Regions from separate parts of the Homo sapiens genome. Here region 1 is linked to region 2. The links are contacts of gene promoters, found by promoter capture Hi-C in human tissues and cell types (Jung and others, 2019). All regions are on one chromosome and are shown on one strand. Each heading gives the region's core, a stretch centred on a gene start or on the middle of the fragment in contact. The rest is flanking DNA. Distances are from core to core; before and after follow the strand shown.

Region 1 (7,255 bases), core at 2,955-5,454, 110 kb after region 2:
TTCGACGGGTGTTGCTCATGACAGTTGGGGTCCTCCTCAGCATCAGTCTTGACATGGCTGCAACCAGGGGATCCTCGGGTTTCTCCCAGAATCTCTTCTTCAGCATCTGGCTCATGATAAGGTTTCAGGTGTCGTGATGGTATCCAAATCGGCTGTTGATTTGGTCCAGGAGAAACACAAGCATAACCTCTACCCCAAGTTATTATTTTACCTATTTCCCAACTTTTTGCTAACGGATCTCACTACCAAACCAATTGTTCTGCTTCTGTCTTTGCAGCTGGTTTCTGTAGATGCTGTTCAGCTGCTGATAGCATCTGGCCTTTAGGCAGGCTCAAAAAATTTAAAGTCAATAATGCTAGATTCAGTTGCATACGGGGGTCCCGTAGTCCCTGTTTCTCCCCTTTTGCTTTTGCAACTGCTATTTTAGGGAGAGGTTCATTCTTTCCACTATGGCTTGTCCTTGAGAATTATATGGGATACCAGTAATGTGTTTAATATTCCATATAGAGAAAAATGTAGCTAGAGCTTGGCTACTATAGCCTGGGGCATTATCTGTTTTAATAGAAGCTGGAATGCCCATCACCAGGAAACACTGCAAAAGGTGATGTTTAACAGAGGCAGAAGACTCTCTTGATTGGCCTGTAGCCCAGACAAAGTGAGAAAAGGTGTCCACACATACATGTACATAAGCTAGTCTCCCAAATGAGGGAACATGTGTGACATCCATTTTCCAAAGAGAATTAGTTTTCAATCCTTGAGGATTAACTCCTGCTGTAAAAGATGAGAAATGTACCATCTGGCAAGTTGGGCATCGCTGGATAATAGTTTTAGCTTCTTTCCAGGTAATGCTGTATCTGCGCTTTGTGACCAGAGACATTAACATGGGTTAAATTGTGAAAGTGTCGGCCAGGCACAGTGGCTCACACCTGTAATCCCGGCACTTTGGGAGGCTGAGGCAGTTGGATAACGAGGTCAGGAGATCGAGACCATCATGGCTAACACAGTGAAACCCCATCTCTACTAAAAATAAAAATAAAAAAATTAGCTGGGTGTGGTAGCGGGTGCCTGTAGTCCCAGCTACTTGGGAGGCTGAGGCAGGAGAATGGCGTGAACCCAGGAGGCAGAGCTTACAGTGAGCCAAGATCACGCCACTGCACTCCAGCCTGGGCAACAGAGCAAGACTCCATCTCAAAAAAAAAATTGTGAAAATGTCTAGCATTATATATTGTAGTAGCAACTAGGCAATCAGCCATTTGATTCCCTTCAGTTAAAGGTCCTGGAAGAGTTACATGAGCCCTAATGTGAGTGATGTAAAAAGGGTGCATTCTACTCCTAACTGCTATTTGCAATTGGGTAAATAAAGTCATCAGTTGCTCATCAGTGTGGAATTGTAGCTGAGCATTTTCAACTAACTGTGTAGAATGTACCCCATATGAAGAATTGGAACTCACATTAATAGGCATATCAAAAGCAGTCAATACCTCAATTACAGCTACAAGCTCTGCTTTTTGAGCTGAAGTATAGGGCATCTGAAAAACTTTACCTTTTGAGCCAGAATAAGAAGCTTTACCATTATTAGACCCAACTGTGAAGACATTTTCAGCATCTTCAATTGGTTTAAATTTAATTATTTTAGGGAGAATCCAATTAGTTAATTTCAAAAATTGAAATAATTTTGTTTCAGGAAAATGATTATTGAGAATACCCACAAAATCAGCTAAATGGATTTGCCAAGAAAGACTATTTATAAAAGCTTGCTGTATTTATGCCTTCGTGAGAGGGACAATAATTTTTCTGGGATCATATCCATGTAATTTGACAATCTGAGTTCTCCCATTTCCTATCATAGGTAGCAATTTGATCCAAATAAGGAGTTAGAGTCTGTGAATTAGTATGTGGAAGAAAAAAACATTCTACTAAGTCCTGCTCTTGGACAATAACACCAGTAGGTGAATGCTGAATTGAAAACATTAGCAAATCTGGAGTCTTCTCTGGATCTATTCTATCTTTTGAGCTTTATGGACTTGCTTTTCAATCAGCTGTAACTCTGCCTCAGCCTCCTTTGTTAATTGTCGAGGGCTAGTGAGACTAGGATCTCCTCTAAGGATAGAAAATAGATTACTCATGGCAAGGTAGGAATGCCTAGAGCAGGTCATATCCAATTAATGTCCCCTAGTAATTTTTGAAAGTCATTTAATGTTTTCAATTGATCCCTACATATGGTTACTTTCTGTGGCACTATTGTAGTGTCACTTACTAAGGTTCCTAAGTAGGAGTAAGGAGTAGTAGTCTGAATTTTGTCAGGAGCTATAATTAAACCAGTGCAAGAAATCGAATTTTGTAAATGATCATAATATTGGGGTAATATTTCTCGAGTGGGGGCAGCACAAAGTATATCGTCCATATAAGGAATAATGTAATACTGTGAAAATTTTTTATGAGTAGGTTCAATTGCTTGCCCTACATACTTCTGGCAAATTGCTGGACTGTTTAACATGCCTTCTGGCAACACTTTCCGATGAAAACGCTTAGCAGGCTTCAGGTTGTTTACTGCAGGAATTGTAAATGCAAACCATTCACAGTCTTGCTAAGCTAAGGGGATAGTAAAGAAACAGTCTTTTAAATCTATGACATTAAAGGCCAGTTTTTTGGAATCATAGCAGGAGAAGGCAGTCCTGGCTGTAATGCCCCCATAGGTTGTATAACTGAATTAATGACTCTAAGATCTGTCAGCATTCTCCATTTACCTGATTTTTTCTTAATAACAAAGACTGGAGAATTCCAAGGGGAAAATGCTGGAGCTATGTGTCCTTTTTCTAATTGTTCAGTAACTAAGTCCTCTAAAGCCTCCAGTTTCTCTTTACTTAACGGCCATTGTTCTATCCAAATTGGCTTGTCTGTTAACCATTTTAAAGCTATAGATTCTGGAGGCTTAACAATGGCTGCCATCAAAAATGATATCCTAAACCCTTGGCAGGAACTTTTCTTTCTGTTTGAAGCGGTTCCTTCAAACCCTGCAAGTATTTTTCTAGTCCCATACTAGGGACGTACCCTATTTCATGCATCATATGTTGACTTTGAGGGGTATATAATTGCTCTGGAATTAGAACTTGTGCTCCCCATTGTTGTAATAAATCTCTTCTCCATAAATTTAAGGGTACAGAAGTTATAATTGGTTGAATAGTCCCAGGTTGTCCATTGGGCCCTTCACAATGCAAAATATAACTACTTTGATATACTTCAGGGGCTTTACCAACTCCAACTATGTTAAATTGAGCGGGTTGAATTGGCCACACAGATGGCCAGTGCTGTAGAGAAATGATTGAAATGTCCACTCCTGTATCTACCAAACCTTTAAATTTCTTTCCCTGAATAGTTATTTCACAGGGAGGATGTTTATCAGTAGTTTGATTCACCCAGTAAGCTGCTTTGCTTTGTTTATTTGTGCTCCCAAATCCTCTTGTTTTTCACTTTTCCCCATTTCCACATACAGCACAATCAGGAGCCGTGCTATACGCTCTCCTGGCTCTGCTTTCCAGGGAACAGAAGTAGATATAACAATTTGAATTTCCCCACTGTAATATGAATCAAGGACTCCTGTATGTACTTGCACTCCTTTTAAATTTAAACTAGATCTACCTAGAAGTAATCCTATCATCCCCGCTGGCAAGGGTCCACAGACTCCCGTAGGTACTTTTTGCTGGGGCTCCCCAGGCAGAAGACTCACAGCTTTTGTGCAGCATAAATCTACTGCGGCATTACCAGCTGTGGTGGGGGACAGACATTGTACAGGGGTGAGGGAGTGGCCTGAGCCAGAAATGCCCTGGTTTGGAACAGGGCCCAGGATAGGCCCCTCATGGCATTTCCCAAAATCGGTTTCCCATCTTTATCAAACTTAGAGTGACACTGATTAGTCCAATGTTTTCCTTTTTTACACTTCGGGCATACACCTGGCTCATACTGATTAATGGCCTGTTTAAACTCTTTAAGTATTTTAAAAGGAAAAAGCTCAAACATAGCTATAATATTTCCTTGTTGATCTGGGGGGTGTATCCTAACAGGGAACTGCCAAGCCTCTATATCACCCTCTCTTCTAGCTTGCTGGATTCCTGCCTGAATAGAACTGAGAGCGGTTGCTTGAGGCGCTACTTGAACAGTCACTGGGGCAACTACTTTTTGCCCAGTGTCCTCTGGAAAAGAAAGATCTGGAGGGTCAGGCCACTCTTTTTCTTCAAAATAAGGAGGGGGTGCAGAAGGGTAGGGATGAACCTCTTCCTCTTTGCCACTTTAGCTTTAGCTGGCAAACAAACCTGCTCTTTCACCTCTTCTGTTATTTCGATATACTTTCCTTCCTCCACATCATCAGTGTGAAAATGTTCCAAGGTGGAACAAACTAGAGCCCACACTTGTTCCATTGTTACCCTGATGCTTCCAAGCTCCCCTTCTTACTCACCACAGGGATTGCTTAAGAGTACTCAGGTGTCCTCCAGCTTAGTTCCACATTCTCCAACCGTCGCTCCAATGACCCTTTGACCCAGGTTGGAGCCCCACGTATGGGCACCACTTACCGAGATCAGCTCAGTCGTGGAGACCCTAACCCAGTGGCACTAGAGGAATTAAAGACACACACACAGAAATATAGAGTGTGGAGTGGGAAATCAGGGGGCTCACAGCCTTCAGAGCTGAGAGCCATGAACAGAGATTTACCCACATATTTATTGACAGCAAGCCAGTGATAAGCATTGGTTCTATAGATTATAGATTAACTAAAAGCATTCCTTACATGAAACAAAGGGATGGGCTTTGGCTAGTTATCTGCAGCAGGAACATGTCCTTAAGGCACAGATTGCTCATGCTATTGTTTGTGGCTTAGGAACGCCTTAGGCAGTTTTCCACCCTGAGTGGGCCAGGTGTTCCTTGTCCTCATTCTGGTAAACCCACAACCTTCAGCGTGGGCATCATGGCCATAACGAACATGTCACAGTGCTGCAGAGATTTTGTTTATGGCCATTTTTGGGGCCAGTTTATGGCCAGATTTGGGGGCCTGTTCCCAACAGTATATGAGTTATTTTGATATAGGCATACAATGCATATTAACTACATCAGGGTAAATGGGGTATCCACCACCTCAAGCATTTATCCTTTCTGTGTTACAGACAATCCAATTATACTCTTTTAGTTATTTTTAAATAAACAATAACTTATTGTTGACTGTAGTCACCCTGCTGTGCTATCAAATACTAGCCCTTTTTCATTCTAACTATATTTTTCTGCCCATTAATCATCCCCATAGCCCCCCTACCCACCCACTGCCCTTCCCAGCCTCTGGTAACCATTGTTCTACTTTTTTGTTTGTTTTGAGTCGGAGTTTCGCTCTTGTTGCCCAGGCTGGAGTGCGATGGCATGATCTCGGCTCACTGCAACCTCCGCCTCCCGGATTCAAACGACTCTCCTGCCTCAGCCTCCCAAGTAGCTAAGACTACAGGCACATGCCACCACACCCAGCTAATTTTGTATTTTCAGTAGAAATGGGTTTCACCATGTTGGTCAGGCTGGTCTTGAACTCCTAACCTCAAGTGATCCACCCGGCCTCCCAAAGTGCTGGGATTACAGGCGTGAGCCACCGTGCACAGCCCATCATTCTATTCTTTATCTCCATGAGTTCAACTGTTTTAATTTTTAGCTCCCATAAATATATAAGTGAGAACATGGGAAGTTTATCTTTGTCTTTCTATGCCTGGCTTATTTCACTTGACATAATGATCTCTAGTTCCATCCATGTTGTTGCAAATGACAGGATCTCATTCTTTTTATGGCTGAATAGTACTCTGTTGTACATATGTACCACATTTTCTTTATCCATTTGTTTGTTGATGGACACTTAGGTTGGCTCCAAATATTGGCTATTGTGAATAGTGCTGCAATAAGCATGGGCAAGGTTTTTTACTGAATGTTAAAAACAATAGCAAACTAGTTATCAAAAGCATCTCTGTCCACCCCACAGAAACTCCCTCTTAGCCTAAGCTTGCTCTCCACCCTGTTGAGCAGGATGAAGTACAGATTGAAGTTGTTCAGCTAAGGGCTGTTAGGATCCTTGCAGCTGCAACTCGGCTCATCACAGCTACCAAGGTCAGTATGATGGCTCTGTTCAGGGCTCATTATTCTGATAATTGCAACTGGGCAGAATATATAGCACAATGCTGCTATTTATTTTCAGATGCCAGTTTATGTCATGGGAGTAACCAGTACCCAGACCCCTTTCTCCTTCAGCAATGCTAATCCTGGGCTCACATTCCACTGGTCTATGAGCAAAAGGGATGTATTGGATCTAGTGCCCAGGCATTCAGAGGTAAGAATTTGCCTGTTTATTGTGTTATCTTAGGGATCTTGATATTAAATTTATTTTAATTTATCATAAGTTTCTTTTTGTTTTGAGATGAGGTCTCACTCTGTCCCCCAGGCTGGAGTGCAGTGGTGCAATCTCAGCTCACTGCAACCTCCACCTCCTAGGCTAAAGTGATCCTCCCACCTCAGCCTCCCGAGTAGCTGGGACCACAGGCACATGCCATCATGCCTGGCTAATTTTTTGTACTTTTTTGTTGAGATGGGGTTTTTGCCTTGTTGCCCAGGCTGTTCTTGAGCTCCTGAGCTTAGGTGATCCACCCACTGTGACCTCCCGAAGTGCTGGGATTACAGGCGTGAGCCACCATGCTCATCCTATCATAAGTTTTAGACTGATTACTCACTCCCTAAACTACACAATATTATTACTTATTTACTTTTCCTACTGTTCTCTGAACTCTGAACTCTGGAAACCTGCAAAGCAATAAAGAATCCAAATTTGAGTATGCAGATAATACTGTATGATTATTTATTTTTATTTTTTGCTGGAAAGAGCTCTCAAAAGTGATCTTTCTTTTAATATTGTATTTATTAATGTTGTTGTAATGTTGTATTTGTGAGCAGATGACTATGTTAGATGAGTAACACTATGAATATAAAGTATATGCATAAAGTATAAAAAATAAATATACAATTTTTATTTTTTATCATGTTCAGACACACATTTGATTATATTCATAATCATGGTTGTGCTACATGCTGGGTGATTACATTAATAGTAAGAAAAGCAAATATAGAGGGCTGTAGGTGGCATTGCTTTGTTTAGCATGCTCCCAGCCCACCCTACTTGGAATTGGGGAAGAACTGGATTCCCATGTCAGGCACCATGGGTACCACGGAGCTGTAGTCGCCT
Region 2 (7,189 bases), core at 2,082-4,581:
TTCAGCTGCTGATTTTCTTTCTGACTTTTGCGTCCTTTTTCTGGTTTTATGTTAATTTCAAGTAACTGTCACAAGCTAGTTCTGTTCAATAGCTCTGCAGCAATCTCAAGGTTTGCTTACAACTACTTGTTTCAGTAGTATTCTTGGCTTTGTTTTCTTTAGAGATTATTTGACTTAACTGTGAGCGCCCTTTTATTTATCCCATCAGTTATTACTTTGGCCTCTACTTTTTCGAAAAAACATGTAGTGCATGAGGATCTTCCTGTGCTCTTTATAATCTGAGATTCTGATGTTTCTATTGTTTGCAATGTTCAAACTCCGGTGAGCCATTTCAAGAGGGTATTGTTATGTGGGCAAAACCTAGAAAAGTGGATGGCTGATGGTTAAGGCTTGCTCTTTCATTGACTGAAAGCTGAAAGTGTTGGTTGGGTGTGGGAGGGAGAGGAAATGGCTGATAAGGGCCCTAACTCCCTCACCCAGGAAGTGCAGCAACACCTACAACTTCAGTAGGCAAGCCAAAGGCCCTACAAAACTGGGTGATGTAATAGCTCACTTCTGTGGCTGAGAAGGCAGCTGCTTTATCAGTCTGCAGCTTCTCTGCAACAGGAGCAAGTCTCAAAGAGCGGGTAGACCTTGAAATTTACTTCTAGTTCTTGTAACTTCTCTCCTTTACCCCCATTAGATAAACTGAAATGCACCAAAGAGGAGCACCTCTGTACACAAAGGATGCTGGACCAGACCCTGCTTGACCTGAATGAGATGTAGAACGCCCCAGTCCCACCCTGCTGCTGCTCCTCCCTCTGACCCAGACTCCGCCTGAGGCCAGCCTGCGGGAAGCTGACCTTTAACTGAGGGCTGATCTTTAACTGGAAGGCTGCTTTCTCCTTTCACCACCCCCTCCTTCCCTGTGTCTTTTTCGCCAAACTGTCTCTGCCTCTTCCCGGAGAATCCAGCTGGGCTAGAGGCTGAGCACCTTTGGAAACAACATTTAAGGGAATGTGAGCACAATGCATAATGTCTTTAAAAAGCATGTTGTGATGTACACATTTTGTAATTACCTTTTTTGTTGTTTTGTAGCAACCATTTGTAAAACATTCCAAATAATTCCACAGTCCTGAAGCAGCAATCGAATCCCTTTCTCACTTTTGGAAGGTGACTTTTCACCTTAATGCATATTCCCCTCTCCATAGAGGAGAGGAAAAGGTGTAGGCCTGCCTTACCGAGAGCCAAACAGAGCCCAGGGAGACTCCGCTGTGGGAAACCTCATTGTTCTGTACAAAGTACTAGCTAAACCAGAAAGGTGATTCCAGGAGGAGTTAGCCAAACAACAACAAAAACAAAAAATGTGCTGTTCAAGTTTTCAGCTTTAAGATATCTTTGGATAATGTTATTTCTATTTTTTATTTTTTTCATTAGAAGTTACCAAATTAAGATGGTAAGACCTCTGAGACCAAAATTTTGTCCCATCTCTACCCCCTCACAACTGCTTACAGAATGGATCATGTCCCCCTTATGTTGAGGTGACCACTTAATTGCTTTCCTGCCTCCTTGAAAGAAAGAAAGAAAGAAGACTGTGTTTTTGCCACTGATTTAGCCATGTGAAACTCATCTCATTACCCTTTTCTGGGTTTGAAGCTGCTGTCTCTAGAAGTGCCATCTCAATTGTGCTTTGTATCAGTCAGTGCTGGAGAAATCTTGAATAGCTTATGTACAAAACTTTTTAAATTTTATATTATTTTGAAACTTTGCTTTGGGTTTGTGGCACCCTGGCCACCCCATCTGGCTGTGACAGCCTCTGCAGTCCGTGGGCTGGCAGTTTGTTGATCTTTTAAGTTTCCTTCCCTACCCAGTCCCCATTTTCTGGTAAGGTTTCTAGGAGGTCTGTTAGGTGTACATCCTGCAGCTTATTGGCTTAAAATGTACTCTCCTTTTATGTGGTCTCTTTGGGGCCGATTGGGAGAAAGAGAAATCAATAGTGCAACTGTTTTGATACTGAATATTGACAAGTGTCTTTTTGAAATAAAGAACCAGTCCCTCCAACCCTCAGACCTATTTGACTTTTATTTATTAAAACTAAATGTGCTTTCTCCACAGAAGCTATGAGGTTTGGGTTAAAAATAGCATCTTTGTGGGTGGTAGCAACAGGATTTATTCTTTATTATTATTATTTTTGAGATGAAGTTTCATTCTTGTTGCCTGGGCTGGAGCGTAATGGCTCGATCTCGGCTCACTGCAACCTCCGCCTCCTGGTTCAAGAGATTCTCCTGCCTCAGCCTCCCGAGTAGCTGGGATTACAGGCACCTGCCACCATGCCCGGGTAATTTTTTATATTTTAAGTAGAGACAGGGCTTCACCATGTTGGCCAGGCTGGTCTCGAACTCCTGACCTTCAGGTGATCCACCTGCCTCAGCTTCCCAAAATGCTGGGATTACGGGCGTGAGCCACCGCACCCAGCTGGAGCAACAGGATTTAATATAGAGCAAATGTTTAGTTTTATCATCTGTAAAATGGAGATAAGTATTGTCAGAGTAAACATGAAGATTAGAAAGAACACTTAATGTGCTGGGCCTTTTATAGGTTAACACTGACATCTCAGGCTGAACTATATACATTTTCCTTCACAACCATATCAATCCTTATAAACTATGGATTTATGCTCCTTAAAACAATATATAATGCTGATCACTACTATAAATGCGTGGTTTTAACCAACTGTACTGAAACAGCTTTGAGTTTATATTCTGTTTGGATATTTGGAGAAAACAACAAGTGCTCTCAAGAGTATTTGCTTAGAGGCCGGCTGTGTGAGTGGATAACTTTGAAAGCTGCTTTTGAGACGCCAGTGTCTGGCATTTCCTGCATTCTGGCCTGGAGGCCGGACGTGAATCTGACTTCTAGTAAAAATACACGGTTCCCTTGACAAAGTCGAGCTGTTTATCCCAGAGACTGCACAATTTTCCGTTGATAGGCATGGACCAATGCTAACTGGAAATCATTGCAAAAAGTTTTTTTGTCGGGCGGAGGGTGTGGTGTTAAGATAAACAGTGTGCAACAGAAGAAATTAAAACTGGAAGAAATTAAAGGGTTTTTTTTAGACTTTTCTGCTTGTTCCTTACTGTTAAAAAGGTCTGCCATCCAGTATTTAGGAAAGCCCTTTAAGAGAGTTTGAGGTGTTTTAGCTGGGTTTGTGCCAAAAGTTTCCATTATATTGGCTTGCTGAAGGACTGCATTTAAAAATGCCCACACATCCGAGCAAGAAGCAGGTCCCATCCCCCTCTGCTGACGTCACGCCTGTGGATTGGCTGATGGAGCTGTGAGCCGGCTGTAGTTGAGCGGGAACCCGAGACCTGGCAGTCGCCATGACTGGCTGTCCGGCGTCATCAAGACGCCGAGGCTTCGGGCTCTTTTTCTTCTTGCGTCTACACCGCCTCCTGTTGTTGTTTCTGGTTTTGCGTGGGACCCTGGCCAACAAACTTAACGTGCCACAGGTGTTGCTACCCTTCGGCCGAGAGCCAGGCCGGGTGCCTTTCCTGCTGGAGGCCCAGCGGGGCTGCTACACTTGGTGAGGGGTGGTGGGTGACAAGGATATGCACCCTCACTACCATCCAGTAAGGGTGAGGGGGGTTCCCTCTGTAAGATCCCACAGGAATACCGTGTGGGGCCGCGTGAAGGGGCCTAGCCGGTAGGGGAGGAGAGTGTGGTGTCAGTGAAGGTGGCGAGGAGCAGACCCTTGGGTGTGGCGTGTCCTACTCATGTGGTATATCCTCCAGCTGTGTGACAATCTTCCAGACGTGTGAGGAATTCTCGGGATGTGGGACTGGCCTCTTCTCTGTGTGTGTTGGGAAGGGGTGGTCACTATGAGCAGCCGTCAGGGTAAAGGGAAGCCCTGTGTTGGAGGCCACAGGTACTGATGACTTCCAATGTAAACAACTAGAGTAAGAGGAAGTTCCCCATATCTGAGGAAATTTCTGTAGGAACAGGAAAACTTGGGGTGCGAGGGTCCCCACTAACTATAGATGAGCTATTCAATGTGAGAAGGACTTAAAACACAACAGCCAAGTATTGGGGGTTAACTAAGCACTTTACATGTGTTAACTCATTCGCTTTTTGCAGTCTTATGAAGTAAGTACTATTACTCCCATTTCACAGACGAGGAAAGTGAGGCCCAGAGACTATGAAGTGTAAACTTCTGGGAATATGAGAAGATTTATCGTGGGTGGAGATGAGATCTGTCTGTATTATCAAAATTGCCCCATTTATAAAAGGGTACCCGCTTGAAGTGTGAGGACAGGGGGTACACACAACTCCGGGATAATGACTTCCTGACTGAAGATGAAGAGACATGATTTTCTGGTGTGAGAGGACCCAATGATGGGTTATGTGGTTGCCTAAGGTATGAGAGAACCTAACCGAAGTGAGCTTCAGGATGCCAGTGCATTCATCCTAGATGGAGTAGATACCCCTTTGCCATCTCCTAGGAGAAGCAATGAGGTTTGTTCCGAGTATAAATTCACCTCTCATTTTATGAGGAAGTATAAGGAAAGTGAGCTTGTAAGATGATCCAGTGTGACGTGTGTGTTTCCTGACCGTGAGGGTGATGCAAGGCATCTTTCCAGCATTGAAAGCCATTTCTTCTATCACTCCAAAAATATTAATGAGGCCAGGCATGGTGGCTCACGCCTGTAATCCCAGCACTTTGGGAGGCCAAGGCAGGAGGATTACTTGAGGCCAGGAGTTTGAGACCAGCCGGATCAACATAGTGAGACCCCGTCTCTATTTAAAATAAAAACATTCGGCCGGGCGCAGTGGCTCACGCCTGTAATCCCAGCACTTTGGGAGGCCGGGGCAGGCAGATCACTTGAAGTCAGGAGTTCAAGACCAGCCTGGCCAACATGATGAAAGCCCATCCCTACTAAAAATACAAAAATTAGTCGGGCATAGTGGCAGACACCTGTAATCTCAGCTACTCGAGAGGCTGAGGCAGGAGAATCGCTTGAACCCTGGAGGCGAATGTTGCAGTGAGCTGAGATCGCCCTGCTGCACTTCAGCTTGGGCAACAAAGTGACTCGGTCTCAAAAACATAATAATAAATAAGAATAAAAATATTTATGAATGTTTTTGGTATTTTGAGTTGGACTCACACCTCATAATTTAGGCACCTTTTCCATCCTAGATATCAGAAGCCTGGTTTCTAGGATTGAAGGAAACTTTCCTCAGAGTATGAGAAAGTCCCCTCTCATTACTAGAAACACATCAGTCGTATTTCTGCATACTGAGGGAAGAATATAAAAATCTTTTAAAAAAAATTGAGGGAGGGATATTTCTGGGACTTTGTTCAAGGGATCATTGGGAAAGTTCTCATCAATCTCTCAGTTTAATTATCGCATCCCTAAGCAATGTTCCTTCTTTAAAAAGTGTCATTTACATATACCTGGTAGTATGTAACATGGAAGAAGTGTGAGAATCTATGTTCCACTAAAAGTTAATTTTAACCCACCTATTTCACACTCTTAAGAATTTTGTTCTGGCAGGCATTCCACCCATCATGATGCAGTTACTGTTGAGCCTTTATATGAAAATGGCACCTTGTGTTCCCAAAAAGCTGTACTCATTGCTGAATCTACGCAACCGATACGCCTCAGCAGTATTATTCTTGCTCGAGAAATAGGTATGTTGAGAGCAAAAACACTATGTATCACTTCTTCTGGGGTAGAATAATCTGGTATTTTGTATAGATAGTTAACACAAATGGTGTTGGCTTCAAATGATCAAAGGGAGAATAAATGATTCCTAGCTGGCTGCAGTGGCTCACGCCTTTAATCCCAGCACTTTGGGAGGCTGAGGCAGAAAGATTGCTTGAGCTCAGGAGTTTAAGAACAGTCTGGGTAACAGAGTGAGACCTATCTCTACAAAAAAAAAAAAAAAATTATGGCTGGGGGCGGTGGCTCGCGCCTGTAATCCCCCCACTTTGGGAGGCCGAGGTGGGTGGATCACCTGAGGTGGGGAATTTGAGACCAGCCTGGCCAACATGGTAAAACCTCGTCTCTACTAAAAATACAAAAAAATTAGCCGGGCGTGGTGGCGCACACCTGTAGTCCCAGCTACTCAGGGAGGCTGAGGCAGGAGAATCGCTTGAACCCGGGAGACACAGGTTGCAGTGAGCCAAGATTGTGCCACTGCACTCCAGCGGGGCGACAGAGGGAGTCTCCATCTCAATAAAACAAAATAAAATAAAATAAAATAAAATAAAAATGAAGAGTATTAGGCAGGATTTTCATTTTTTCTTTCTTTCTTTCTTTTTTTTTTTTTTTTTGAGACGGAGTTTCGCTTTTGTTGCCCAGGCTGGAGTGCAGTGGCGTGATCTTGGCTCACTGTAACCTCTGTCTCCCAGGTTCAAGCGATTCTCCTGGCTCAGCCTCTTGAGTAGCTGGGATTACAGGCGCACTGCCACCACACCTGGCTAATTTTTGTATTTTTAGTAGAAAGGGGGTTTCTCCATGTTGGTCAGGCTGGTCTCAAACTCCCGACCTCAGGTGATCTACCTGCCTCAGCCTCCCAAAGTGCTGGGATTATAGGTGTGAGCCACCGTGCCCGGACAGCATTTTCTCTTTTTTTAGAGACAGGGTCTTGCTTTGTTGCACAGGTTGTAGTGCAATGGCACGACAGTAGCTCACTGCATCCTGCCTGGCCTGCGCAACACAGTGAGACTCCATCTCTACAAAACAATAATAATAAATAAATTAAAAGAATTTTTAAAAACCACCTAAAACCTATTCTTAAGTGGACTTTGCAATTAGATAGAACTAATCTATTTTTGTTTCCAGCTTTGGAAAATTTCCTAGTACATCTGAGTCATCACTTTTCCCCCACTCCCTTTAACCTTTTGGTTCCTAGGGAATAAGAGTCCTCTGCTATTTTTCACCAGATTTTTTTCCAACTACTAACACCTATTCTACAAATTTTGTTACTGGCCCTCTTAATGTTCTCACATGTGCAGTCAGTGACAACTATATCTTGACTGCTGCCTGGCTGAGAGGACTTGTAAGATGTCATCAATTATAAGATAAATCCCAATTGCAGAGATGTTAAAAGATAAAAAACGAGTGTCTAAGAATCAATGAAATATGGTATGATAGTCTCAAACATAAGAATCTTTGAAGACCATGTCATGCAGGGTAGCTAAAAAGGA

The links. Contacts are between HindIII fragments. The study calls those that stand out against the background at their distance.
Region 1: a contact is called between a fragment that was not itself captured here and the fragment with the promoter of NUP210L in region 2, in 2 of the 25 tissues and cell types used here (bladder and liver).

Annotation. Positions count from the first base shown.
Region 1 is chr1:154,045,163-154,052,417 of GRCh38, reverse strand. NUP210L (nucleoporin 210 like) reads left to right here. Exons shown (of 40, transcript NM_207308.3): 26 at 6,049-6,129; 27 at 6,218-6,349. Among named protein-coding and RNA genes, the nearest start is that of MIR5698, 56 kb to the left of the region's middle. The HindIII fragment of the contact is 5,090 bases long and covers 1,660-6,749 here.
Region 2 is chr1:154,151,215-154,158,403 of GRCh38, reverse strand. It overlaps NUP210L (nucleoporin 210 like), which reads left to right and starts at 3,331. Exons shown (of 40, transcript NM_207308.3): 1 at 3,331-3,562; 2 at 5,532-5,668. The coding sequence starts at 3,360. It also overlaps a transcript of TPM3 not described here. RefSeq lists a silencer at 2,213-2,390 and enhancers at 2,997-3,497, 3,498-3,998. The HindIII fragment of the contact is 16,458 bases long and covers 1-7,189 here.